Regions from separate parts of the Homo sapiens genome. Here all the other regions are linked to region 3. Evidence: promoter capture Hi-C in human tissues and cell types (Jung and others, 2019). All regions are on one chromosome and are shown on one strand. The core of a region is centred on a gene start or on the middle of the fragment in contact, and the rest is flanking DNA. Distances in the headings are between cores, read along the strand shown. Region 1 overlaps DGKB (diacylglycerol kinase beta). Region 2 has its middle 140 kb from the start of ETV1. Region 3 holds the start of ETV1 (ETS variant transcription factor 1). Region 4 overlaps DGKB (diacylglycerol kinase beta). Region 5 overlaps DGKB (diacylglycerol kinase beta). Region 6 has its middle 140 kb from the start of ETV1. Region 7 overlaps DGKB (diacylglycerol kinase beta).

Region 1 (3,523 bases), core at 318-2,817, 200 kb after region 3:
ACTGGGTGTGAAACAGTTATTGTTAACAAAATGGATTCCACTTAGCCACTCTATAGCCAGAAAAGGTACAAAGAATCATTGAGAAAGCTGAAACTTAAGAAAATTGGCTACAATGCCAACACAGTAACATCTGTGCCAATTTCTGGTTGGAATTGTGACAATATGCTAGAGCCATGTGCTAACATGCATTGGTTCAAGGGATGGAAAATCACCTGTAAAGATGGCAATGCCAGTGGAACTATGTTGCTTGAAACTCTGCAATGCATCCTATCACCAACTCATCCAACTGACAAGCCCTTATTTGTGGTCTGCCTCTCCAGGATTTCTACAGAATTGGTGATTTTGATACTGTTACTGTGTTCTGAGTGGTGACTGGGTTACCTTTGCTCCAGTCAATGTTACAACTGAAGAAAAGTCTGTTGAAATGCACCATGAGGCTTTGAGCGAAACTCTTCTGGGGGACAAAGGGGGCTTCAATGTCAAGGATGTGCACGTCAAAGATGTTCACTGTGCCAACATTGCTGATGACAGCAAAAATGACCCACCAATGGAAACAAATGGCTTTCCTACTCAGGTGACTATTCTGCACCAAACAGGCTAAATCAGTGACGGCTATGTCCCTGTACTGGATTGTCACACAGTTCACATTGCTTGCCAGTTTGCTGAGCTGAAGGAAAAGATTGATTGCCAGTCTGGTAAAAAGCTGGAAGATGGCCCTAAATACTTGAAGTCTGGTGATGCTACCATTGTCGATATGGTTCCTGGCAAGCTCCTGTGTTGAGAGCTTTTCTGACTATCCTCTGAGTCATTTTGCTATTTGTTCTATGAGACAGATAGTCGCTGTGGGTGTCATCAAAGCAGTGGACAGGAAGGCTGCTGATGGTGGAAAGGTCACCAGAGTTGGTGAGGAAGAAATAAAAGGCATCCAAACTGGGAAGAAGGTAGTCAAATTGTCCCTATTTGTAGATGTTATAATATTTTACATAAAGAAAACTCTAAAGACTCCACCAAAAACTAGTCAAACTGAAAAACAAATTCACTAAAATTGCAGGATACAAAATCAACATACACAAATCAGTAGCATGTCCATAGGATAATAGTGAACTCGCTGAAAAAGAATTTTTAAAACTTTCTTTTACCATAGCTACAAAAAAACTAGATACCTAGGAATATATTTAACCAAGGAGGTGAAAGATCTCTACAATAAAACTGTAAAACTTTGATGAAAAATAAATGGAAGAGGACACAAATAAATGGAAAGACATATTATATTCATGAATTGGAAGAATTTTTTTTAAATGGTCATAGTACCCAAAGTGATCTGCAGATTTAATGCAATTCCTGTCAAAATAACTATAATATTCTTCAGAGCAGCGGTCCTCAATGTTTTTGGCACCAGGGACTGGTTCATGGATGACAGTTTTTCCACAGACCAGCCACAGGGTTGGGAGGTGGTTTTGAGATGATCCAAGTGCATTACATTTATTGTGCACTTTATATTATTAGCACTTTATTTATATTATTACATTGTAATATATAGTTATATATTATTTCATTATGTATTACAATGTAATAATACAACTCACTATAATGTTGAGTCAGTGGGACCCCTAAGCTTGTTTTCCTGCAACTAGATGATACCATCTAGGGGTGATGGGAAACACTGACAGATCATCAGGTGTTAGATTCACATACAGAGTGCTCAACCTAGGTCCCTTGCATGCGCAGTTCACAATAGGGTTTGCACTCCTATGAGAATCTAATGCAGATGCTGATTTGACAGGAGTCTGAGCTCAGGCGGTAATGCGAGTGATGGGGAGCAGCTATAAAATACAGATGAAGCTTCACTCTCACCTGCTGCTCACCTCCTGCTACGCGACCCAGTTCCTAATAGGCCACAGACCCATACGCCTGTTTGTGGCCTGGGGGTTAGGGACCCCTGCTTCAGAGAAATAGAAAAAAAAAAAAACAACTATAAAATTCTGTAGAACTACAAAATACCCTAAATAGCCAAAGACATACTGAGCAAAAAGAACAAAGTGGAAGGGATCACACCACCTGACTTCAAAATACACTATTATACAAAGATATAGTAACCAAAACAACATGGCGCTGGCACAGAAACAGACACATAGACTAATAGAATAGAATGGAGAGACCAGAAATACATTCAACACCTACAGCCAACTGATTTTTGACAAAGATGCCAAAAACACACATTGGGGAAAAAGTAGTCTCTTCAATAAATGGTGCTAGGAAAATTCAATAATCACATGCAAAAGAATGAGACTAGACCCTGACTCATGTTATGTACAAAAATCAACTCAAAATGAATTAAAGATTTAAATGTAAAGTTTGAAACTATGAAACAACTAGAAGAAATCACAGAGAAAATGCTTTATGACGTTAGGGTGGGCAAGGACTTTTTAAATAAGATCTCAAAAGCACAGACAACGAAAGCAAAAAGAGACAAATGGAGTTTCATTGAACTAAAAAGCTTTTGAAGAGGAAACTATTCACAGAGTAAAGAGATAACCTAGCAAATGGGAGAAAATATATGTAGACTATACTTCTAACAAGGAGTTAATATATAGAATATATAAAGGAACACAAACAACTCAATGGGAAAAAAACCCCCAAATACCTCATTTTAAAAATGGGCAAAAGACTTTAATAGACATTCTCAAAAGAAGACATACAAATGGCCATTAGTTATATGAAAAAAATGCTCAATACCACTAATCATAAAGGAAATGTAAATGAAAACCACAACGAGATGTTACTTCATTCCAATTAGACTGGTGGTTATCAGAAAGACAAAAGAAATCAAGTGCTGGTAAGGTTGTGGAGAAATGGGAACACTTATATGCTGTTGGTAGCAATATATACTAGTACAACCATTATGGAAAACAGTATGGAGGTTCCCCAAAAATAGTCAAAATAGAATTAACATGTGATCTAGCAATTCCACTACTGGATGTATAGCCAAAGGAAATGGAATCAGCACGTCAAAAGAGATATCTGTACTCTCAACTTCTGTAGCACTATTTATAATAGCTAATATATTGAATCGACCTAAGTGTCCAACAGTGGATGAATGGATAAAAAATGTGGCAAATATACACCGTAGAATATTATTCAGCCATAAAAAGAATAAAATCCTGTCATTTGTGACAACATGGATGAACCTGGAGGACACCGTGTTAACCGAAATAAGCCAGACACAGAATGATAAATACCACATTATCTCACTCATTTTTAGATGTGGAATAGTAAAAATAATTTTTAAATATAACAAGAAGATAAGAATCTGGTACATAAATGGATTAACAAGAGTCATTTAAAAAATCTAGCAGTGTGAAATGTTGCATTCCCTGTTGAAATCTAAAAATGAGGGGTTAATATATGTTATATTATGTTATATATGTATGCAGAAATACATATATTCTGTTATATATGTACACAGAAATACATATATATTCATAGTGGAAGCCTGACTTTAAAAAGAACTTTTCAAGAATGG
Region 2 (4,048 bases), core at 1,508-4,007, 140 kb after region 3:
TCTCTCACTCAGATTTGACTATACTTCTTTTGTTTAAAAAGTCTCAGGGTTTTTGTTTTTTTCTTTTTCTTTGCCAATTTGAGCGATTTTTGGAGATAGGAGTAGTTCTGGAGTAAATGGGTACTGTATTTCTAGCTTTACCATTAGTTAACTCTAAGAATGTGGCCAAAGACTTCAGTTGATACAGGCATAATTTTAAAAAGTATGTAGAAATGAGTTCTTCCAGCTCTAAATGTTTTTTGATTCTAAAATGTGCAAATTAGAATTATGATATAAATTAAACATATAATAGAAAAATAAGTAATACGTTTGTTCAGATTAAGATACCAGAGAGTGAGCATGCTATTCGTATTTGAAATACACATCCTTCAAGATTTAGAAAAATAATAATTTAAAAAATTAAAATGAAGTTACATACTTTAAAATGTTAATATATTTAAAATATTTTCAAATTTGAAAAATAAAATTCCAACATAATTCTAAAGTAAAACAAATTCCCAGGAATTTCACTATAGCTACAAAATTAGATGCTGTTATGCTTTGCAAAAAATACGTTAACTAGAAGCCAGTAGAAGACTGAGGTCTAGAAAGAAGTATAGATTTGATGTTATTGTTTTCTATTTTTAAATTTTATTTTCATTTCTCTTGACAGGAGTTTTAAATTTAAGAGCATTGATAAATGAGGAGAATAACTAACACTCAGGATAAGATAAAAATAACTGTTCTTAAATGTATACATTTTATTGTTCTAAAATGTTAATAGTATGTATGTGGCAGCAAAAATAAGTAATTTGAAATCAATGGATTATTTAGAAAGCTTCATTTATTCCTTTATTAAGCAACAAACCATCTTGATCAAAGGGTCACCACTGATCTTTTAGTTGCATGAACAAAAGGGAACATCTCTTTTGGCCAATGTATTTTCTTATTCTATAAAAAGACAAAAGATATAAAGTAACAACCAAATGAACATTTATCAATAATACTTTTAAATTCCATTCATCAATATAAATTTTAATGCCTTATAATTAAAATATGTTACACCTGACTGCAATCTCTTCCATTTCTCAATTAAGTTTACTTTGCCAAATTGTGTGTGGTGGCCTGCGTATGTGTGTGAAGAAATGAGTGTTAGACAAAACTTGTCTTGCTCTAAAAAAGCCTCTAAAAGGTAGACACCACAGATTGAGAACAAGAGAAAAAAACCATATCTATGATATAACAACGTTAAAAGAAATCCCAGATATTTAGAACTACATCTGTTAAGGTGATCCAAAATATTACAAGCCAAAACCCAACTAATTCTTCATGGATATGCAAATAGAGCTCATGGCACGTAGTTTCTAGAGAGCACAGAAAAAGTTGCAAATATATATAAACATTTTGAAAATATTATTTAGCCCATCTGCAGCTTTTTATAGATTCTAAGTGCTTTAAACTCCTATTTTATCTGTTATTCCTTACACCAATCCATTATAAGTCACAAATTTGTTTTATGGCTGGATACAGTGAAACAAGCTTTGAATGCATTAACAAGTTCTCTAGTGAACAAGTACACATTAAAAGACATGCATTTTCTAACATAGTAAGGATAGAAGAGGGTAGTAAAGAAAATATGAGGGCAGAAGCCTTGGAATTCCTTGGAGAATTCTGAGTTGTGCTAGAAGGGTCTTCTAGGTCAGCTATTATCCAACAACGTTTTCTACCAATGTGTGGTCCATTCTTCACCACCACCCACCTAACTGAACTCTGGACTATGATTTTGATAAGATGTTGCTGGTATGTGTTTCTAATACTCTTGTCCTTTCCTAACTCATTCAAAGTAGATTATACTAATACAAAGGGTTAAAGACACATTATCATATATGAACTTTGAAGCTAATTCACAAATATGTGAAAAATAAAAAATTCACTTTATTCAGTAATGAATAAAAAATAGTAATTCTTCAGTACATTTCGGTAGAATATTAGTAATTCTTTTATCAAATGATTTGTGATAACTTAAAATTAATTGTCATATCATTTATTCATTTCCTTAATTTTGTTGCATGCCCTCTGTGAACCAGGTTTTATGCTAACATATTGAGTAAAATAAAATGTAAATATAAGACAGTTTTCACTATGTTTATGAAGATTACTTTTCTCTGAGAGAGAGATTAATTTAAAAAATACATAAGTGAGTTGGAAAAGTGCTAGATGCCATGAAGTTGGGATATACAATACTATGAGAATATATAGCAGGATTTTTTGAAGTTGTGATATATAATACTATGAGAATATATAGTAGGATTTTTTGCAGGTTTTCTGTTGGTTATAACTCCAAACATGTTGTCTTTTGTACCTCCAGGGTTGGAAACCTGCAAACTACATTTCTTAGAAAACTTTGCCATTTGGCTTCTTTACTAATAGGAGGTACTCTCAGGAGGCTCAAAGCAAAAAAGAAGGCATTAAGACTTTGTTTTTCCTGCTGCCAGTTTGTGGCTGCCGGTGTAGTAATATCAGCAGACATGGTGACTATATGAGACTCCAGGTTCGTCCCAGCAGCATCAGGAGAGATTTAACACCAGTGAAAATCTGGGCTCCTAAGTTTCTGCTAACTGGTGACATTGTGATTCCCACAGCTGCAGTTGCACTGGTGGCACCTCTCACAGTTAGTTGAACAACAGCAAGCCCAGGGAAAGCTTTTATTAGAAAGGGCTGTTTTAGCTATCAGAAAGTACAGGCTACTTGCTCTGCCTGCAAGACACTGTTTTCTTCCCTTGTTATCAAAGCAGATAGGCTATGCAAAGAAGCCCTCTGTGGAGGTATATTTTAGGGACTAAATGAACATCTATATGGCTGAAGACCAGAAAGCAAGGGGAAGGAGTAGTAAGAGAAAAGGCTGGAGAAGAAGGTAGGTGAATGAATATGCAGAGAATTCTAAGTACCTTCTGATAGCACAGAGAAGCCAGAAAAGGATTTGATACATACATATTTTCCGTTTTTCATTTCAAAATGTTAACTTTGAACTTTGCCATTAAAAGATTGCCACATAATATATGGGAAGTTTTGTTCCAGATTACTTGAAATGGAGTTCTCATTCTTTGGGACATAACAGGATTTTGTTTGTCCAGTGGATCTACGTAATAATAACCATGATAGTAACAGAAACAATGGTCATAATACTGTGCATAATAGCCCCTGTTTTTGAGCACTTTCTCTGTAGCAGATACTGTTATAAGCATTTAACATGCACGTGATAATTCTAACAGAATTAACCTTGGCGGAAAAGTCTAATTTGTTTTCACTTTATAAATGAAGAAGCTGAACTTTAGTGTTTCAAGTAACTCTCAAGAAGTCAAATTGCTAATATGGTATAATACTGTCCCATTCCCTATAATTTTAGCCTTGTGCTTTTCTGCTTTCTAACTACCTTCTTAAAAAAGAGGAACAAATATGTTTCTCGTCGTTGATATTTTGACTAAAAATAAATTTTTCTTTTTCCTCTCTCAGTTATATAATGTTTTCAAGATATTTAATCCTGAATTTCATCTGTATACCTGGTTAAATGTGGGATAAGTGGATTAAAAAAGAGGGGGCATTGTCTTTGCACAACTAAAAGTATGATACACATAAGGTTACTGTGATGGCTACAATGCCATACTAACCAAATTCTCTTTTAATTTCCTTAATTTTGGCACACAGAAAATCTAGCTTTTTCACTTCCTTGCAGTTAGGTTAGGGCCATGTGGATGGGGTCTGGTGTGACTTGTTCTGCTAATAGAATGTGAGCAGATACGATGCAAGCCACTTACATGCCTGTTGGTAAAGGATCTCTATGTTTATCCCCACTCTCCTTTTTTTCTGTAGTCACCTCAGAGGCCTTATGCTTAATTTAACAGCATCATATCATCCAATTCATGAGAAATTATAATGTGAGTGAGAAATAGACTTTTCTTTTTTGTTCGTGTTGCCACTGAGATTTGTTTTTTTAAACATATGACCTAATGTTAACTACCTTGGCCACTAGAAGACAGGCCAGCTGTGGTTGATTTAGAGTGTTCCCCAC
Region 3 (3,721 bases), core at 1,076-3,575:
GATTTGAGGAAGTTTCAGAATTCAGTATATCTAATTAAAATTGCCAACTAAACTTTGATAATTAAATCTAAGTATATTAAGTTTATTATGAATGTCCTCATATGGCTAAAATAATTTGTAACATACTGACATCCTAGCAACAGTTCATAAAAAGAATCTGCAAACTAATTTCCCAAATAGTATTATAATTATTAAGGAGGCCTTAAGTATGATTCAGTGAACACATTATGGTCGATAAACAAGGTATTATGACCTCACAATTTAGTCATCAAAATCACCCTTGAAAATTCTGTTAATAGTAGATGGTTTTAGTGTAAAGGAGGTGGGAAACCAAACAATCACTAATACTGTTTAACTTGTAATAAAGGAGAAAGAAAAAAGTAAGCAGTGTACATAGCTGCTGAATTTGTCCCACTGTATTGGATATTTTTAAATTGTTATCTTAGTGAATGGGGTGAGTTATATGCCCCATGGACAAAGGTATTTAAACACAAAACAATGATTAAAAGAAGGTTGTCATTGAGAAGTTTTTATTTCCTTCTTTCATTACTTTGTGATAGGACCATAAAATAGTCTCCCATGCAAACTGCCGCATTATGTAAATCGTTCCAAGTTAAAGTCTTAGTTAGATTCAGTAATTTCAAAGTTTATTATTTTTAAGATAAGACTGAAGTGCTCCTTTTCTTTTAGCAGGGTGGAGAGTGTAGGTAAAAAAATGGGGATTCAGCCCAAAATCAAACCTCACCTTCTGAATCATGAGCCAGATCTCTGTTAATGAATTTTCTTTTCCTGACATTTGTTGGTTTCTCGTTACAATTTCTCCCACGCTGACTCTACAAAGGGAAAGATAAAATCCTTTAAAAGAATGTAAACCTCAGATCACACACACGCACACGCGCGCGCACACACACACACACAGACATGCATACATAAGTCTAATGGATCTTCTCTGAATAGAAAAATAGAAGTCCATAGTATCAACTCTAATATTCATTTTCTCACTTATTTGACAGTGAAAGCTTATGTTAAGCAGGCAGGGAGAGTTGCTTCCCAGTGCCGATCTTAGCACATTACTATTTATCAATCATATATTCATGGTATCTCAGCATCAAAACAACCTGAAGCATTTACACTTAAAGTTGTTTTTAGGCTGGTTCAATGCTAGATTAAAACAGTGGGTTTTATTCTCTCTTGGACAGCCCCTCCTCCCCACCCCACCCCCACAAAAAAAAAAAGCAAAAAGAGTAGAGAAATGAAAAAAAAAAAAAAGAGAAAATGAGAAAAAAAAAAGAAACAAAAACACCCCATATAAACAAAAAGTGTCAGCATTTGTCTCAACTTCATTCTTTTCAATGTGGCAGACAAACCCAGCCAAAAACTTTGAGTGCAGCAGCTGCTGCTGCCCTCCATCTCCTCTTCCACTCATGTTGGGCACTTTAATCAGAAAAAGGGGTCTTAAAAACAAAACTATGCCTTATCCAAATCACTGAAAGGTAAGCTCATTTTGAAGACTGGGCTTCTAGAAGCAGAGTCGCCCTACAGTGGCAACAAAGCAGATAAGTATCTGCAATCCCAACCCCCGTGCCCCCTCCCTTCTCATTTTCTCCCTCTCCCCACCCCCGACGGAGTCAAGTTTATAAACAGCAACTTTCAAACTGATCACTCACATTGGTGACCATGTAAGGCACTTGCTGGTCATAAAATCCATCCATGCTGCTGCTCTTCGCAAATCTCAGCTCAGTATTTTATATTTTGAGCATTTAGCTGGAGATTTCCTCAGGATCTGGACTTCTATCAACCTAGAGGGGAACAAGATGGCTTTTAGGCTTAAAAAAAAATCATGAATGAAGCTCTTGAATTTGCATAGCTAATTACCCTCCGACAGTCCCATTCACAAAAATAACCCTCCCTACACCGCCTCCTTCACCTGGATCCAAAGAGAGCCAACAGAGTTCACAATTTACATATTTTCGGTAGTAGCAAAAATCCGAACAAGAGGCGATGTATTTATTTACACTCTCGATGTTTCCCTGCGCGGTCGGTGTACCCCGGGCAGCTCTGATTCGCAAACGTGTGCAAAACTAGCAATGGCGATCAACGAGACTTGCTTTGCACCTAACGGGACTAAAGAGACGGAGACACCTCTTTCATCAGGATAGTTTTTGCGACCCACAACCATGCAATTATCTGGAGAGACATAAAAAGTTGTTGGAAAGACCCACCTGAAGGCCACGCTAGGCGAAAGGCTGCAAAAACTTCCCTCCAAATTTAATAAAAACATTAATTATAGCCCAGCACTTCCCCCTTGGAAGCCGAAAGCGCCTCTGACAGAGCTCAATTCGGTGGTTTTTCCTCTACTTCTCCTCCAGGGGCCTCCAATCCAAACTGATGGATCGCTGCCTCCCATTGGCTCCGCGTCTCTTTCACAAGATCAGATTTCGGGCTGTCAATCAGGCGGCTTGCTGCCCCTTCCCGCGGGTCTCCCTCGCCCCTCTGCCCTAGGGGGTGCTCGGCCGGTAGGCGCTGGGTCCTCAGCCTGGAAGCGCCACGGAGAGACTCGATTTCCTCTGTAACCCGCTGCTTATTGTTAAGGCGCCTGGGGATACTGAAACCGTGTGTTTCGAGTCGCCAGTTCCCATTATTGGGGTGTTAGGTCCACTATTGGGCTGGTTTCCTTAAAGTACTGTTGTGCGGTTCTGGTATACCCTTAGAGCCGCGATCCACAAAGCCCGTACCGCCTTATTCAGCTGCCCTCCCCTCAGGATCTCCAACCTCTCTACTCTTGCCCTGACTAGGAGCTCACCTCGCTCTCTATCCTCATTCCCACTCAGCTTTTGGCCCAATTTATTTTCCCGTTTTTCAAAACCCACCATCACCATTATGGTTTATCGAAACATTTTTTAAACAGTCATCCTCAACTAAAATTAGATCCTATCGTTCGTGGGACAGAAACATAAAGAATCTATAAGGAAGGCACCTAGGAGATGCAGAATTGCTGATTAGCAGAGGTTGTGATGGGAGGACAACAGAGCAAGCTAGGTGAAAAAGTATAAGTCAAAATGGTCCCTACGTGTGCACTGGGAAAAGGTACTTCCAGTCCACTGTGGCTGTGGGGAGGAGGAGGGAGTGCTTGGGGTTGCTCGTATATCCTAGAACCCGCACGTTTCCTGAGCTTTTGTTATGTATACACGGAGGCGGAGGGTGTCACTTACTGTACTTGACGCTTTCACTTCCTCTCCAGCTTTTAAACAGCCAGAGCCCAGGGTTGGGGGCGAGCGGTGAGATGGCTCGGGTTTCAAGGACAATAACTAGGACGTTAAGCAGTGAGGGCTGCATCTCTGAAGCCACTTGCCCTGATCCTCCTATGGGACTCAGAACAGTAAAGCGTCACTTTAAGGAGCCAGTGTCCAACAGCGGACGGGAGGCCGCGGGGATAGGACCAGGGACTCAATGCTGTTGAAATTCATTTGTGACCAGAACTAGTGACCAAAAGACGTTTCCGGCAGCTGTTCCGCCCGTTAGGAAACGTGCTGCAGTTCTCAATTTCTATTTGAAAGTTTCCTTCCTTAAATAGAACGTTATGGAGACACATTAAAATGGAGTGTAAGAGCGCACAGCACTCAACCCCGGACCTGGGCAGGAGAAAGATCTACTTAAAAAAGAAGCAAACAAACAAACAATCAACACTTATTACTGGGAAAACAACCAATAACTATGGACA
Region 4 (3,935 bases), core at 788-3,287, 220 kb after region 3:
AAGAAATGTGAAGAAAACCTAAGTATTAGGGTAAAAATGTATGAGATGGAATTTATAAATGTTGGCAATAACTTTTAATTAATCTTTTATTATACTGTTTCTCTTACTGGGAGTTGAAGAGGTTGATCATGTTTTCTTGCTGCCCAACACTTTTTAAGCAACTTCTATGTTTCAGGAATAGGAACCCTGCCTTTAGAGGGCTACAGAAGCTCTCTCCCTCTGCCTCCTTTGAGGTCAACATGTGATCCATCAGTATGTGATCCATCAACATATGATCCGATAGCACCTGATCCCTCAGACTGTAATCTATCAGAGTGTGAGTCATCGTGTGTGGGATCTTTCAAAGTGTAATCTGCCAACATATGACCTAAGCTTTGCCAGTCGGGTGCATTGGTGTGAGATGTTTGGAATGCAGTGGCTTGAAGAGGGAGATAACAGGCAGAAACAGTTCTGGCCAGGATGGCATGGAGACATTCTGTTCTCTGAGGGCATGGAGTCCGAAGTCCTAGGGGTAGCATCCTGTGCCCAGCTTCTCTGTGGTGAGGTGTTGGACTCATGCACAGAAGCAGAGACATTAAGGTTACCTGTGGGAATGCCAGGCAATGTACTTGGTGAGTGGTTCCTGGCTGTATGGCTTTTAAGCCTAATTATCTGTCCTTTGGAGAGATTTTGGGGGTAACTAATATCAGTAAACATGTTCCTTTTCTCCTCCCACAAATGAGAGTGGATTCTGTGGTTTACAAGTAAAAATCCTGACTGATAAATGTGTCAAAATAAAACTGTTTTTTCATCTTAAGGTGGCAACCTTTTTTTACTCCTTTATTGTACTTGGGAACCAGGGCACACAAACCATGAGGATGAGTATATAAATGTGGAACAAAAGAGGGGAAGGAAATGGATTCCAATACTCTATCTTCAAAGTGAACTAAAAAAATGTAAAATGAATAATCCCCAAAATTATATATGACTTGTCAGCACAATTTCTCATTTGAACCTTGAACCAGCATCTACAGAACTTTGTAGATGAACTTCTATAGAAGTTTGTTTGTAAAGCTCTACTCTATGATATTCTCAGTAAAGTTTTACAGTGATTAAATATGCAAGCTTTTATATGAGTTCTGGGTCCAGATTGTTGCTCCTTAAGTTATTAATTGTGTGACTTTGAAAAAAGTATTTAATCTGTATAAGCACCTGTCTCTCCAGTAAAATAAAACAAAATATCCAGTGAGAGAGTATATTCAACACATTTAGTGCTATGCTTGGCCCAAGACAGACCTTTAATAGTTGCTAGTACTGCTAACAATTAAAATAAAACATTTACTTGAGCTTGAAAAAATATTTCAGGGATGGAACAGGAATAGTGGGGACTAGTATTCGGGTTTTTAAACTGCTGGTGGAAGTGCAGTATTAGAAGGCCTTAAAAACTTGAAGAAAACAAAGACCAGTCTAGGATAAAGAAGTATATTCTACTTAATCTTCATGTTTGAAGTAGGAGGCAGGAAGGATTAATGGGGGTTCAACTTCTACTTCAAACAGTTTCCCTCCCTTTTGCTGGGTTGCAAGGGATTGTAAACAGCCTCAATTTCTCCCTCTTTATACATCTTCTTCCCTCTTTCTTCTGTGTTATGCATTGATATTTCTTTATGTTTGTGTGTACACATATACTAGTATTTCTGTATTGAGTAAAATAATTCAAAACGAGAATAGTTGCATTAATTTTACGACAGTTAAAGGAACCGGCTTTATTGGTTCCATTCTTCATTTTTCTGCATTCTAGCCTTCTCGCTTTGGTTTTGAAATATAGAAGTACTAGGTAGCCTCTGTATCTAGCTTGATTCTTTATTCACTGAAAACACAGCTAGTGTTTTTTCAGTCCTATATGAGTGCTCCAAGAGTTGTTAGAAATAAACAAAAGAATATTCATAGCCTCCTGGAAATAGCTAGTTTTTTTTTTTTTCATTTATCCTTTTTACTTTCTTCCTTTTGGATTCTCCTCTTCTTTCCACTCCATCTCTTAATTGGCTTGCTTCTTGGTAGCCTATATATTCTATACAATGACTTACTAAATTACTGGAGTAATATCGACATACTTGCATACATCGTTTCTCTTTTTTCCTGTAGGGCACATGTCTCAAACAGAATATAATTATAGCTAGATGCTGAGTGGGAAACAAGCAGTCCTTATATATTGAGGACATGAGTATAAGCCTGAGTAACTATTACTACTGATAGAAAAAAAAAAAACGCCAAATTTAAAAAACCATCACCATTCATCAATTTTTAAATTGTATCTCATGTTTAAACATTTATTTGCTTCAAATGAATAATTAAAGTCAGTCCCATCTCCCCCTAAACCAAAATTAAGTAGCATTGAAATTCCTTTTCATAGAGAGATATATACGACAAGATTGGGTATTTGGAAAGATACAGACACTGCTTGCAACTATAAAAACAAGATCAAAACATTTGGATGCCCTTTCTCCACTTCAGTAGGACAGCAACTACACAAGGCTATTCTCTGGAGTAATGATCTTGTCTCCTTCCAAAGGTTTTTTTATCCTATATTCAGGAGGTCATATGCAGTCTTCAGCTGCACAGAGCTCCACTCCTATTAATTTAAAATGGGGGCTCCAGAGGTTCACATTCAGCAAAATCTGCCCCTTAAGAGGTAAGCTTTACCAATCTCCCATTTGAAGAAAAAAAGAAGCGTTTATCTTTGGAAAAAATAACCTACTTAAATAGTCTATCTTCCCTAACAAGAAATAAAGAAAAACTTCAGACATAAGTTAATAAAATATCCTTTTGATTAAACAGAGTTCACTTTATTTTCATGTTTTGGCAACACTGTTTTAGTGGATTTGCATGGGGGGGCTCTGGTATTGTTATTTTATCATTATATTATCATTTTGTTAAGCTATCTGGCAAATTGAAAAGGTTATTCACCCTATGGCTGTCTTTTTTTTTTTAATGTTGAGCATTCATTGAAAAGAATGAAAGAAATCTGGTTGAATATGCAGGTGCACTAATAAATGGGTGGTCTTTGGATTACAGTATTTATGTGTACTGTGGCAAAGCTGAACAGAAACCTAAATGTTATACATACAAAGTGGTACAACAAGAACATCTGTGTTGGGGGGATTGAACTGGCATGGCTAACACCTCCAGTGCCAGGTGCAAAGGAAATTTCAATACAGCTTGAGTAATCTTGACTGCTAGCATCTGCCTGCATCAGATTATCTCCTATGTTCCTAGTCCACCACTATCCATTAGAGTATTTATATGATACATCTGGTGGTGCAATGGCCAAGCAAGAAGCAGCAATGCCTCCGTTACTGGGGGCAAATGCCTGACTCTTTAACTCAATACAAAGGCAAACAGGAATTCATTTCAGGCCCACAGGCAGCCAGCCAACTCTTCAAGACTAATTAGAAGATAGCACTCCAGTGTGATGGCTGCTTTGTCCTTTCAGTTTAGTTACTTACATATCCATGTGCACAATCTGCAGACATTTAACTTTTCATTTTAAAATCCTATTTCTAAATATCATTTCCAGGAAAATAACAGGGTTTTAATATGTTGCCAGAATCACAACAGAGCTTTAATGTGACTTGGCTCAATCCAAAGTCTCAACATGCACCTGATTTTCAGAATGAATCAATGTGGTCGGGTGAGAATGGTGGAGATCATCAGTCCATTAGTCTCCGCAACATCAAATCTCACATGTCCAACAACACAAAGATTATGTCCCTCTCTTCAAGTCTTCAAATCTTTCTCACCTCAAGAGATGACTGTGTCACCTAATGCAGAGAAAATCAGTGGGATTGCTTTAGCAGTCTGCCATCTAAGAATCTACATAAACCAGCACCTACCTTTCCTCTCTGCTTCCTGTTACCATAGATGTGTGACACCTCTGTCTTTGACTTTATAAAGCAAAC
Region 5 (4,067 bases), core at 1,245-3,744, 180 kb after region 3:
AACATAGTTCTATCCCCAAGTTAAATTAAAAAATACCTATTGTTTCTTGAACTAAAAATTAAGATATAAGCACATAGACTATGGGAAAAAAGTGATCAACGGATTCCATTATATTTTCCAATATATATTATGTGAAGTGCTCATTTAAATGGTATTTGAAATAGAAAGGATTTTCATGATATTCAACTTCGAATGGGCCTTTGAAAGGACCATTAAAACAATCTCTTCTTACAATGGTTTATGTTGCTTCTTCACGTAGATGCCCTAGGCTGTGTTTGCTAAGTGTGGAACTGCTAAAGAAAGCCAAAATATAAAGGAGTCTCATTGGACTACTGTCTGTTTTACACCTGTGCTCCTTTATTCATCACTGCACATTTCAGAAAGCCTCAGAAGCATGGTATTTCTTCCTTTCTGAACCTTTTATCCTTAGGCAAACAAGCTTAACGAACTGCTGACAATTTCAGCAATAATAAAAGGTAGGAACAGTCCCGGTTCTATAACTCTTTGTTTCATGACCTTGGACATTCACCTAACCTCATCCGTATAGTCTAAAAGTGTCTTATACTAACAGATAACTTACTTGGAATAGTCCTAAAATGTGTTCGCCTACAATGTAATTTAAAAAAGAAAATCTCATGTGGTCATCCACATCATTACTCGCCTATAGAAATACCTAAAACCTTAATCTTATAAGTGGGTAAAAACAACTAAACTTTTTTGGTCAATTATTTTCTCTCAATGTGGTAAATGCTGTCTCAAACTGCTTAAATCTGGGGCACAAGAGTAGAAAAAATATCAGTGATGTTTTCTCAAATTGGGTATGTTTTAAGATTCAAGGTTTAGGGCATTTATTAGACTTATTTAGTATTTTTGGAAGGAATATGAAAATGGGGAATAATCTATGAAATCTCCAAGTCAGCACGCAGGTAGTTCTAGCTAATAATATGCCAATCTGATGGAGAGAATTTAGCCAGATCTCAAAATAGTCATAAACAAGAAAATCTAATGGTGTGGGGGTGTGGGTTCCAATTTCAGTTAAGAAGGAATAAGCACTCTTCACTCTATCTCTCCCACTGAATGCACTATAAACCCTGGGCAGAACACATGAAGCAGATATCTGAAGTTGCTGAAAAGAAAATAATAAAAGGCAAATTGGGGAAGAAGACCAGAACATGAAGTGCCATCAAACCAGTGATGAGTTTTTAGTTTTTAGTTTTTTTCTCTACTCTTGCACCTCCTGGCCTGGACTTAAAAGCAGAACAAAAACTGGAATTGTATACCAGGTACAGATAGAAAGTGCCAAGAAAAACCCTGTCCTACTGGTACAAAAATAGGAAAGAAGGGCCCTACAGATCAGAGTGAATGGGAAAAATATTCGTTAATCAGGCCAGACACAGTGGGTGGCTCATGCAGGTAATCCTACCACTTTGGGAGGCCAAGGCAGGCGGATTGCCTGAGCTCAGAAGTCTAAGACCATCCTGGCTAATAGGGTGAAAACCCATCTGTACTAAAAATACAAAAAATTACCTGAGCGTAGTAGTGTGTGCCTGTAGTCCCAGCTACTAGGGAGGCTGAGGCATGAGAATTGCTTGAACCCGGGAGGCGGAGGTTGCAGTGAGCCAACTTCATGCCACTGCACTCCAGCCTGGGTAACAGAATGAGACTCCATCTCAAAAAAAAAAAAAAAAAAAATTCTGTTAATCATTTCCATCCCAGTCCTCTGGCAATTCCATGGCAGTGGAAGGTAATTAAAACTCCAATGGAGGAGACATCTTTTCTCTGACTAGAGAAAGTATGTTCCCAAAGCATGGGGGGAGTCCTACTCCTTTTTTCTCTCTCTATTCCTTTATCACAGAACCCTGGAGGCAGATGCTACTTCGAGAAATATATGACAAAGTGAGGAAACAAAAGCCTTGGATTATTGGTCAGAGAAACAATATGAGAGCCCTGGGAGTAAAAAAAAAATATCAGAGAGATCATGGAGAGGAGGTGGCTTGAGAAAGCTATCCTATGAAGTTGCATTTGATCACCTGAGTTTATCCCTTAGCTGTGTATGCATAGATTTGACCTTAACAAACATACTGATGACTTTGAGAGCTGCATTTGGGGGTATATCATCACCAAGTTTTCAGACAGGCATATGGATCTTTTACAAGTAAGATACATCTGAATAACATTGCAAACACTTTGAAAACCAAACAAACATACTGGAACCACAACTCACAGAAGATAGAGCAGCTTTTGTAACCTGAACCTAACAGAGTCAACTACCTGCTAAAATAGTAACAGCAACAACAATAAATTAACATTTCCTGTGAGAATTGAAAATACCTAGAGTCTTATAACACAATATTAAAACTGTTCAGAATATAATAAAAAGTTTCTCAAGATATGAATCACAGAAAAATCTCAAAAACACACAAGGGGAAATATAGCCAATGATGCAAACCCTGAGATGATACAATTGTTGGAATTAACAAAGACTTAAGAGGTATTATAACCATGCTCTAAGAAGTAATGGCAGATACTCTTGAAATGAAATGAAAGACAGAGAGCCTGAACTGAGAAATAGAAGATAGTTAAAAAATGAATCACTGGAAATTTTAAAACTGAAAAATACAATGAACAACATAAAAAATAACTGAAAGGACTCAACAACAGAATGGAGATAAAAGAGAAAAATGTCAGTGAATTCAAACACAGGTGAATAGATATCCAATGTAAACAATAGAAAATATAGAAGGAAATAAAAAGTGAACAGACTCAAAGATCTATGAGACAATACATAAAGTGCTTAACACACGTCATCAGAGTTTTAGAAGGAGAGGAGAGAGTGTGTGGCGTAGAAGTCAATATTTGAAGAAATAATAGCTGGAGATGTGCCGATGTGGCAAAACATACAGCTACAGATTCGTGAAGCTCAGTGAAACTAAAACAAGATAGGCTCAAAGAAACCCATGCCCAGACTCATCAAAGTCCAACTGCTGAAAACTAAAGACAAAGAAAAAAATCTTGAAAGCAGCCTAAGAAAAATGACGTATTACATATTGCAAAGCAATGATTCAAACGACTATGAATTTCTTATCAGAAATTGCACTATGTAAGAAGACATTTGCAAAGTATGAAGGGGAATTAAAGATGAAATTTAAAAATGCTTACAATTAAGTCAGAAGAGCTGGATGCAGGCATGCGTAGCCGAAATACAAGTCTGTGAATTGGAATGCTGTTAAGAAGATATCAACAGAGTCACAGGAGTACAAAGGATCAGGCAAATATTTCTGACAGATGGGAAGTTAAAAAGGCTTCATGAGGAAATTGCTTCTAAGCTTGGCATTGAAGGAAGAGATTTTATTTTATTTTTAGTATGTATGTATTTATATCTCATTGCCTTCCAGAAAGATTTTGAAGTAACTTATAAAAATACATATATCCCAATAGGACAGAATAATTAATTCAGGCAATCTGACTAAAAGGGGAAAATTATGTGTATGAAATTAATAAACCATAGGTAAGACTAGATGAAAGAAATGCAAACCATGGGCCGGGTGCAGTGGCTCACGCCTGTAATCCCAGCACTTTGGGAGGCCGAGGCTTGTGGATCACAAGGTCAGGAGATCAAGACCACCCTGGCTAACACGGTGAAACCCAGTCTCTACTAAAAATTAAAAAAAAAAAAATTAGCCAGGTGTGGTGGCGGGCGCCTGTAGTCCCAGCTACTCGGGAGGCTGAGGCAGGAGAATGGCGTGAACCCGGGAGGTGGAGATTGCAGTGAGCCGAGATGGCACCATTGCACTCCAGCCTGGGCAACAGAGCGAGACTCCGTCTCAAAAAAAAAAAAAAAAAAAGAAATGCAAACCATGAGTCCTAGATAACTACTGGAAGAAGCCACAGATTTGGAGGTAGCCTGCCTGGAGACCAGAAGAATGAATCTATTTCTAAAGCACAAAATAGAGGGTAAGGATTTGAGGCAAAAAACGAAGTACTATGCATGGTAATCCTCTGGGAAGTGGTTCCTATGAGGCATAGCAGTCTGGTCCCGGCCTTGGGAGAATAATTTAATGTCATGA
Region 6 (3,700 bases), core at 990-3,489, 140 kb before region 3:
AGGGATAAGGAGATAGAATGAGATCTTAATTGAAGGACTAAACCTGTCTAGAAATGATAACAATACTTTAATAACGGAAGTACATCACGTCCAAAATATTTTCTTTGGATGAGGGAAAGTACAGTCATGATGTTTTCATCATGTTTTTCTTTTCCCTCGAATTTTCTACATTGAAAATGTCACAAATATATGATTTGAAAAAAATGTTATTTTGAAAAATAAATAAGAAAAACAACACAGTTGCCCAGTTAATTAATTGCAACTTTAGAAGCTTTATGAAGTCATTGGTTTTAAGAAATACCATATAAATGATCTTAAGCACCAGAACAGAACATTGATTTTAGATAATGAGGAAACTCTTATTATTGATAGGGTTCCCGACATGATACCCCAAACACGATACCTCAGCATCTGAGAAAACAGCAGAAGCAGAAAGGCCACTCTCACATTCTCCCACACTTGTCCCCTGATGGAAGCCATAAAAGTATTATCTGGCCGAGCATGGTGGCCTGTAATCCCAGCACTCTGGGAGGCCGAGGTGGGCTGATCACCTGAGGTCAGGATTCAAGACCAGCCTGGCCAACATGGTGAAAAACCATCTCTACTAAAAATACAAAATTAGTCTGGTGTGGTGGTGCACACCTGTAATCCCAGCCACTCGGGAGGCTGAGGCAGGAGAATCATTTGAACCCGGGAGGTGGAGGTTGGAGTGAGCCAAGATCACGCCATTGCACTCCAGCCTGGGCAAAAAGAGTGGAACTCCGTCTCAAAAAAATAATAATTATTATTATCTAAACTTCCTCTGAGTGAATCATAAGATCCTCATTCCAGAGATGCCCTCCTTATTCCCAGAGGAAAGTAATGTCTTTACCTCTGAGGACACAGGGACATGAAGAAGAATCTGAAGCAGAAGATCTTGCGAAATTCCCCTACTTTATTACCATTAGATCATACTTTGTTCATTTATACTTCTAAGCAACTATTCACGCTTCATCAAACCTAGCATAAAAATATATAGGTTTTCCTGTTTCCTTGGGTCTTCATTTACAAAGGCTCCCATGTCATGTAAAACTTACATTAAATAAATTCACATGCTTTTTTCACATGAACCTAGCAATGGGTGAAAAAGAAATTACTTTTTTATCCCTTGCAGTTTCTGGCACCCAATAAATCTCTTCTCCCTAATACCATCCTTATTCTGCAATAGATAAAGGTCAAGGTTAGTAAAGAGATAATAAAGATCCAGAGAGGTTACCTGTTTAATTATAGGACTGAAAATAAAAACCACTTTATGAAAAACCAAAGGCAGGAAAGAATGTTCATTGACATTTAATACCGACTCTTGCCATGCTTAAACACACACATATACACACACAAACACATGCACTTTCAAGCACCTCTAATATTCATCAAGATACTCAACCAGGGCCCTGCGTGTCACTACCACACCTTGTCTCTATAATAATTGCACCTGGTCTCTATAACATCTACTGCAGAGAGTTCTTGTGTGCAAGATGATCTATGGAGTGTGGGTAGAAAAATTTAATATGTGTGTTTACACCTGCATTTTTCTCATTAATAAAAAAAGGATTAATAGTAGTATCTATTCCATATGGTTGTTTCAAAGGGTATATGAGTTAATTCACAAAAAGCATTTAAAATAGTTTGGAAGAAAGTTCCTTGATCAATACATGGTAGCAATTATTGTTATTACTATTATTATTGCTGTTGTTCATTTTTTAATTAGACACAGGTTGAGTTTTGCCTATATTTACAACAGTAACAGCAGTGATAACTACAGAAATACACTTATCTTGGGTATGCATATTCAAAAATGTTTAGATGCGTTTCATAATTGACATGCAGAAAAAAATAGCCAAATTAAATCATATCTCAACCTACTGGGTGCTTAAATTTAGCCAAGGTGAAATGCTCTTTCTATATCTTTGTGGAGTGTCTCCAGCCTGAATTCTCTTCTACCTTCTCTTTTCAGCTGAGTACTTTCTTCAATCCTCAATATAACCATCTGTGTATCTCCCTGATCCTACAATGTCCCTCTCTTCCATTTCATCTCTGTTCTCACAGGAATTATAAATATTTGTTTTATAGTACTTTTCCCATTGTATTTTAATTGGTTATAAATTTGTTTATAGTATTTGATTATAAAATACTTGAGGATAGCAACTGTGTCTTAGTGAACTTCATTTCTCTGGTGACTAACACAAAGCTAACAACTGTTTGCAGGAGAAATATTGAATGATCTCCCTTTTTATCTTGACATAGAAATTGATTAATTTCTTTCCCTGTAGGATGGTACAGGAAAAACAAAATTTTATGTATACAATTTACAAACATAGATTTCCTTTTCTTAGGTTATTAAAATCTGGCCAGAGATTCATTCCACAATGACATCTCCCTGGAGGCGACGACTTTAGTTTTCCTTCACTTCTATCTGACTTTGATGTTTGACCAAGATGTTCAAACTCTTAACCCAGAGAAGACACCTAAGGAAGCCACATGGTGTGGGAAAAAGTGACATATTTTAGTTTCATATAAAACTCCATTTTTTATGTTGGCTGTGCCATTTAGGAACAGAGATTTTGAGAAATATAAATAATTCTTTCTCTTCTTCTTTGACTTTATCAGTAAACTTAAAATTATAAAGTTTAACTCACAGCTTGCTCTTTTATTTCTTTTGAGAACATAAAATCACAGATATCTTATTTGATTAATTTCCTTATACAGGGTAGATATCACTACTGACAACCTCTATCAACTCCTTCTTCTAAAATGAGACTTGTGACTTGTGTTTTTAATTTTTTAACTGTTAGATAATTATATCATTCCTTTAAAATATAGTAAGCTCCTTGATGACACACTCAATCTCTCCCTTCTCCCAGAGTGCTTAATCAATATTTGTTTCTTGAATTGAATAGAACTGAGTGGTAAGATTTCCCTCCAATTTTGGTTATTTTCTAATATGAGAGTCTGGATGATCTACTCCCTCACGTACACAGTGCATGTGCCCTGGCGTGACTCGGCAGGCTCTGATCACCAGCCAATTTTCGGCAGCAAACCCGTATTTTTTTTTTATTCTGAGAAATTATAAAAATAACATTCCTGCCATCACTTCATCAATTCATAAAGTGACTTTAGTCTCTTGCTTTCTAATTCCTTTCATTTCTCCTTTATAAGCCTGCCAATAGCCTGGGCCTTTGCTGGCCTTACATATTTAATCAGAGTAACCAATGCTGAGGATTTTTACAGGGAATTAAGTTTGATTTGTTTTGAAACATTTATTTATTCCATATGGCATTTAAGTGACTGAATTATTTTTGGTGTTGGAATGAGGTTGCATAAACTGGATTCAAATTTAAAACAGACACACACACACACACACACACACACACACACAGCTAAAGCCCAGGAGTAGTTCTGTAGGAAATATCCACTGTAAAAGGAAAATGGACGTACAACTGAGGAATCAGATTAGGAGATTTGGCAAAATCACAAAGATAATTTTGCTAACATTGGAGTCACCAACATAAAGCTCCACAATTTAGGCCAATACTGGGTTGCACAGTATAGTGACATTGTGGCTTTCCTCCCTGGAATCACCATGTCACTGCCATGCTGTTGTGTCCTGGATTTAGCTGACTTTGGCAGGACAAGCCCTCTCTTATCTCTGGGGGGTGATGGG
Region 7 (3,986 bases), core at 935-3,434, 250 kb after region 3:
AAAGACAGCTTATCACTTTTGAAATAAGCATGGAAGGCAGAACAATTTTCATAGAAAAATGGAGAGTATTCATTCCAATTAATAAAAAAAAAGCTATTATTTCTGCCAAAAAAAAGGAAAATTAATAGCAAAGGTAGGATGAACCAGAGACCCTTTCAATATTGTCTTCTAGAACATAAAGTTATTATAATAACACTAAAGAAGAAAAAAAACTTGAAACAACATATACATTGAGAAAAGAACAATTTTTCTGTTCAACGAGAATCAAATTTTTTACAGCTGATCGATGTAATATAGTTCTGTAATTTTCGTGAAATAATTTTAGAACTGCTGGGAAATCTCAGCTGAAGGAAACAAAGAAAAGTTCATAAAATTTTCTAAAAATCAAAGTCGTGAAATTTTTTCCCCCTATGAATTATATATTAGAAACAAGTAATTCAATTCCAACTTTCTCTTTCCTGTGATAGTGAAAAAGCTTATAAACCAACAACTTAACACATGAAAGCCATTTTAATTCTCACACCAGCACACATCTCACAAGAATTGAAAATAAATAGAAAAATATGTGGTGAAAACAGTCGTGTAGACCCCTAAACATTTTCAGAATTTAACATTAAGCACTTTTTTTTTTCTCGTGGTGACTTTTCTTTTTCCCTTTCCTAAGTTGTAATGTGATGTTTATCCTCCACTTAATTTCTTGGCAATGTGGTAGTGGATCAATAAATCAATCTGGCATATTAACCCTAGCAATCATTTTGGAATGTGGATAAACTTCTTTCTGTTATTGCTTAAATTTGTGCTCTTCCTGTAAATGAGGTTCATTTTATAAACCACAGGTAAAGTTCCATAGTCCAGCGTTACACTTGCCTAGCACATTTCTACATGAATCATTTGTGATATGCTACTACTTTGTTTAAAATATATACACCCACAAATGTAAGTATTTATATGCATATATATTATTTATGTATAAATGTGAAGGTGAAATTGACTCCACTGAAACAAGCAACATGGGCTATAAATGGTATGCTCAATGTATTCATGTTTCATTCTTCCCTTCCTCCATTCCTCCCTTTCTCCCTCTTTCCTTCCTTCTATTACTTTTGACTTCCTTCTGGTTTGTGTATTGTCCTTTATTCCTTCAAGAGACAGGCTGTGAAAGCGCTAATATATGAGGAATTTATTCTTTAATGTAGTGTGTTCAATCCACTAACGTCCTTGCCTAGGCCACCAAATAGGCATTAATGTGAGAGCACAGTCTTGAGTAAGTATAGATAATATATATTTTATTATAATATTTTACAGTTACTCAAGGTAATTTTAAAAATGCCATTTGAATTTTCATTCATATATAATTCATGCTTTTATTTTGAATATGAATCAGAAACAGGCCTGAGAGCAACAAAATAGTTTATGTAGTAGAATCAATAATATGATTACCTAAGATATGCAACAAGATGCTAAAATGCATTGTTATCTTGGCACCGAAAAATAGATCATCTTTTTTAATTTGCCTGTTTAAGATAACATAAAAAACAAGACGTTTGTTTTTTATTTTTCTTGATAATCTTTGCAGTGTTTAAGGAATGTTAATCATTCATTCATTCAATATTAATGTAAACACAAAAAGTAATCAATAATCTTGTCCCTAGTAGAGGTGATAATTATTAAAGGCCATTTATATTACTACATATGTCACTAAAACTTCACAATATTATTTTTGTATTAACACATTTTGAATATGTCTATTAGATTGGTGTTTCCTATATATACACCCATATGACAAATATCTCTCGGGTTGGTGAAAGGAAAATTTCTCTGAAACTCATAACCCTTTTATCAGAAATAAGAATTAATGAAAACTGTTTGATATGGTTTGGCTCTGTGTCCCCACCCAAATTTCATGTTGAATTGTAATTCCCATGTATTGAGGGAGGGACCTGGTGGAAGGTGATTGGATCACGGGGAGGATTTCCCCCATGCTTTCTCATGATAGTGAGTTTTCATAAGATCTGACGGTTTAATAGTGCTTGGCAGTTTCCCCCTTCATTCTCTCTCTTTCTTGCTCTGACATGTGAAGACTGTGCCTTGCTTCTTCTTCTGCCCTAACTATAAGTTTCCTGAGGCCTCCCCAGCCATGTGGAATGGTGAGTTAATTAACTTTCTTTTCTTTATAAATTATCCAGTCTCGGGTAGTTCTTTATAGCCGTGCAAAAACAGACTAATACTTTTGATTTTTTTACTTAGTTTCCAGGAATTTCCAGGCTACATTTTGGGCTTAACAAGAATAACTTTTCTTAGAGTACATTTTCTGATTTAATAAAAATAAAACAGCAATGATCGTAGCAAATCATTCTGAAAATGGTACAGGACAGAGGGTTAAAGTTGTTGTCTTCTGTAGAGAGAAGAGAGGTGGACGTGAAGTTGAATCTAGGCAGGGTAGTTACAGGCAATCCTCTCTATGTGGGATGTCTGGGTGGTTGAATTGCTGAATGGTTACAAATGGTGGAATTTCATATTATATCTATGAGTACCTAGTAATTAATTTTTAGATGCTTATTGAAATATCATGAATACAAACTAAGGATGTTAGCATGCTTTATATGGGGTCTTACATTTTTAAAAAATAATTTTTTTATTTGTTGTTTTTACTAGGTCAAAAAAGGATAGAAACATCTAAAACAATGATTATGTTACAGTGAAGAAGGACTTTGTTTTGTCAGCAATGGAGCATTTTCCAAGGGAGATAGATGAATGCCCACTCCCACTGCCTAACTTTGTAACTGCTTTTGCTGTTTGTTTCCTCTCATTCATTTTGCATTCGTGTTAGGCTTGCATCTGTTTATGTTACTTGTCTATTATTCATCTACAGGATAACTGCTCAGCAGTCGTTACTTCCTTTCATATCTTTTCTGCATCTTTTGTTTCCATGGGTTGTTTTGGCAATAAAACCAAGAAAAGGGTACAAAGCTTATAAAAAAGTGCAGTTGGAACATCATGTTTTTACAGCTCTAAGAACATTATTGCTGATTTCAAAAAGTTTTTTTAAATGTTAAAATGTATTCAGCAAAGTTTAAAGCTCATAGGTATGATAAATTTGAAAATTTGAGAAAATGAAATTTAAAAAGTGTTTCCAAAACAGCTCGCTACTGTTTGATCTTCACATGGCAGTCTGCCTTGTGCAATTCTCTGTTTACTGTACATTTTAATACCTAAGTTTCAAGCAATGAAGTCATAGTAATTCCTTACATTTGTATAGCACTTCATAATTTTATTGTGTGATTACTCATTCATTATGTCCTCTAATCTTTCTAGGTAGATAATTAGCATCTTCATTTTAGGATAGGAAAAAAGAGAGTAATAACTTTGTTAAATGACATGCTAAGATCAAAAGATCAATGGATCTCTGAGCCTGGAATCTACACTAACTTGATACCTGGTGTGGGTCAGGAGAATCCTCACAATATAAAGTTGCTCCAGACTTCCTGCAAGCCTAAGTGGTAAAATAAGGTTTGGGGATTTTAGATTATGTTAGCATAGTTTTATGTGTGATTTTAAATCATTATTGTGTCTCCAAACTTATTAAGACTCTATCTATCTATTATCAAGGGATTGAAGTTTAGCTGGGAAAGGGGACTAATACGTATCTATTTTACCATATTACCTTTATAAATCCTTAAAGGAATATACTTTAGGTCTTATTTTTGACATGAAGAAAAAATTAAAAATAATTTGATCCTGCTACCTTACCAGCCACTGCGTATACGTTTTGTTTAGAAAATAATGGAAAGAAACATGTGACAAAGTGGAGAAGATAACACCATAGAGGCACATATATGTTCTGTATCTTCCCTTATCAATTACATATTACCAATATATATATGCCCAATAAGCAGAAAACTTTTCTGCCAAAGAGATTTCACTTTTATGTCTCTGTTAAATAATTTCTACATTCTACGTCCCACTGTTGTAAAAGAACAACCCAG

Evidence for each region. Contacts are between HindIII fragments. The study calls those that stand out against the background at their distance.
Region 1: a fragment that was not itself captured here is called in contact with the fragment with the promoter of ETV1 in region 3 in 1 of the 25 tissues and cell types used here (dorsolateral prefrontal cortex).
Region 2: a contact is called between a fragment that was not itself captured here and the fragment with the promoter of ETV1 in region 3, in 2 of the 25 tissues and cell types used here (heart left ventricle and mesenchymal stem cells).
Region 4: a contact is called between a fragment that was not itself captured here and the fragment with the promoter of ETV1 in region 3, in 3 of the 25 tissues and cell types used here (adrenal gland, dorsolateral prefrontal cortex and heart right ventricle).
Region 5: a fragment that was not itself captured here is called in contact with the fragment with the promoter of ETV1 in region 3 in 1 of the 25 tissues and cell types used here (dorsolateral prefrontal cortex).
Region 6: a fragment that was not itself captured here is called in contact with the fragment with the promoter of ETV1 in region 3 in 1 of the 25 tissues and cell types used here (IMR-90 fibroblasts).
Region 7: a contact is called between a fragment that was not itself captured here and the fragment with the promoter of ETV1 in region 3, in 2 of the 25 tissues and cell types used here (hippocampus and mesenchymal stem cells).

Annotation. Positions count from the first base shown.
Region 1 is chr7:14,191,221-14,194,743 of GRCh38, forward strand. The region is part of intron 23 of DGKB (diacylglycerol kinase beta); the gene reads right to left. It also overlaps the pseudogene EEF1A1P26. Among named protein-coding and RNA genes, the nearest start is that of ETV1, 200 kb to the left of the region's middle. The HindIII fragment of the contact is 3,302 bases long and covers 1-3,218 here.
Region 2 is chr7:14,128,556-14,132,603 of GRCh38, forward strand. No RefSeq gene overlaps it. Among named protein-coding and RNA genes, the nearest start is that of ETV1, 140 kb to the left of the region's middle. The HindIII fragment of the contact is 3,180 bases long and covers 1,168-4,048 here.
Region 3 is chr7:13,987,341-13,991,061 of GRCh38, forward strand. ETV1 (ETS variant transcription factor 1) reads right to left here and starts at 2,326. Exons shown (of 14, transcript NM_004956.5): 1 at 2,223-2,326; 2 at 1,928-2,124; 3 at 1,668-1,799; 4 at 746-833. The coding sequence starts at 1,712. The HindIII fragment of the contact is 5,948 bases long and covers 1-3,721 here.
Region 4 is chr7:14,206,942-14,210,876 of GRCh38, forward strand. All of the region lies in intron 23 of DGKB (diacylglycerol kinase beta), which reads right to left. Among named protein-coding and RNA genes, the nearest start is that of ETV1, 220 kb to the left of the region's middle. The HindIII fragment of the contact is 5,240 bases long and covers 1-3,935 here.
Region 5 is chr7:14,165,539-14,169,605 of GRCh38, forward strand. All of the region lies in intron 25 of DGKB (diacylglycerol kinase beta), which reads right to left. Among named protein-coding and RNA genes, the nearest start is that of ETV1, 180 kb to the left of the region's middle. The HindIII fragment of the contact is 6,821 bases long and covers 1-4,067 here.
Region 6 is chr7:13,845,693-13,849,392 of GRCh38, forward strand. No RefSeq gene overlaps it. Among named protein-coding and RNA genes, the nearest start is that of ETV1, 140 kb to the right of the region's middle. The HindIII fragment of the contact is 7,098 bases long and covers 1-3,700 here.
Region 7 is chr7:14,236,262-14,240,247 of GRCh38, forward strand. All of the region lies in intron 23 of DGKB (diacylglycerol kinase beta), which reads right to left. Among named protein-coding and RNA genes, the nearest start is that of ETV1, 250 kb to the left of the region's middle. The HindIII fragment of the contact is 3,921 bases long and covers 225-3,986 here.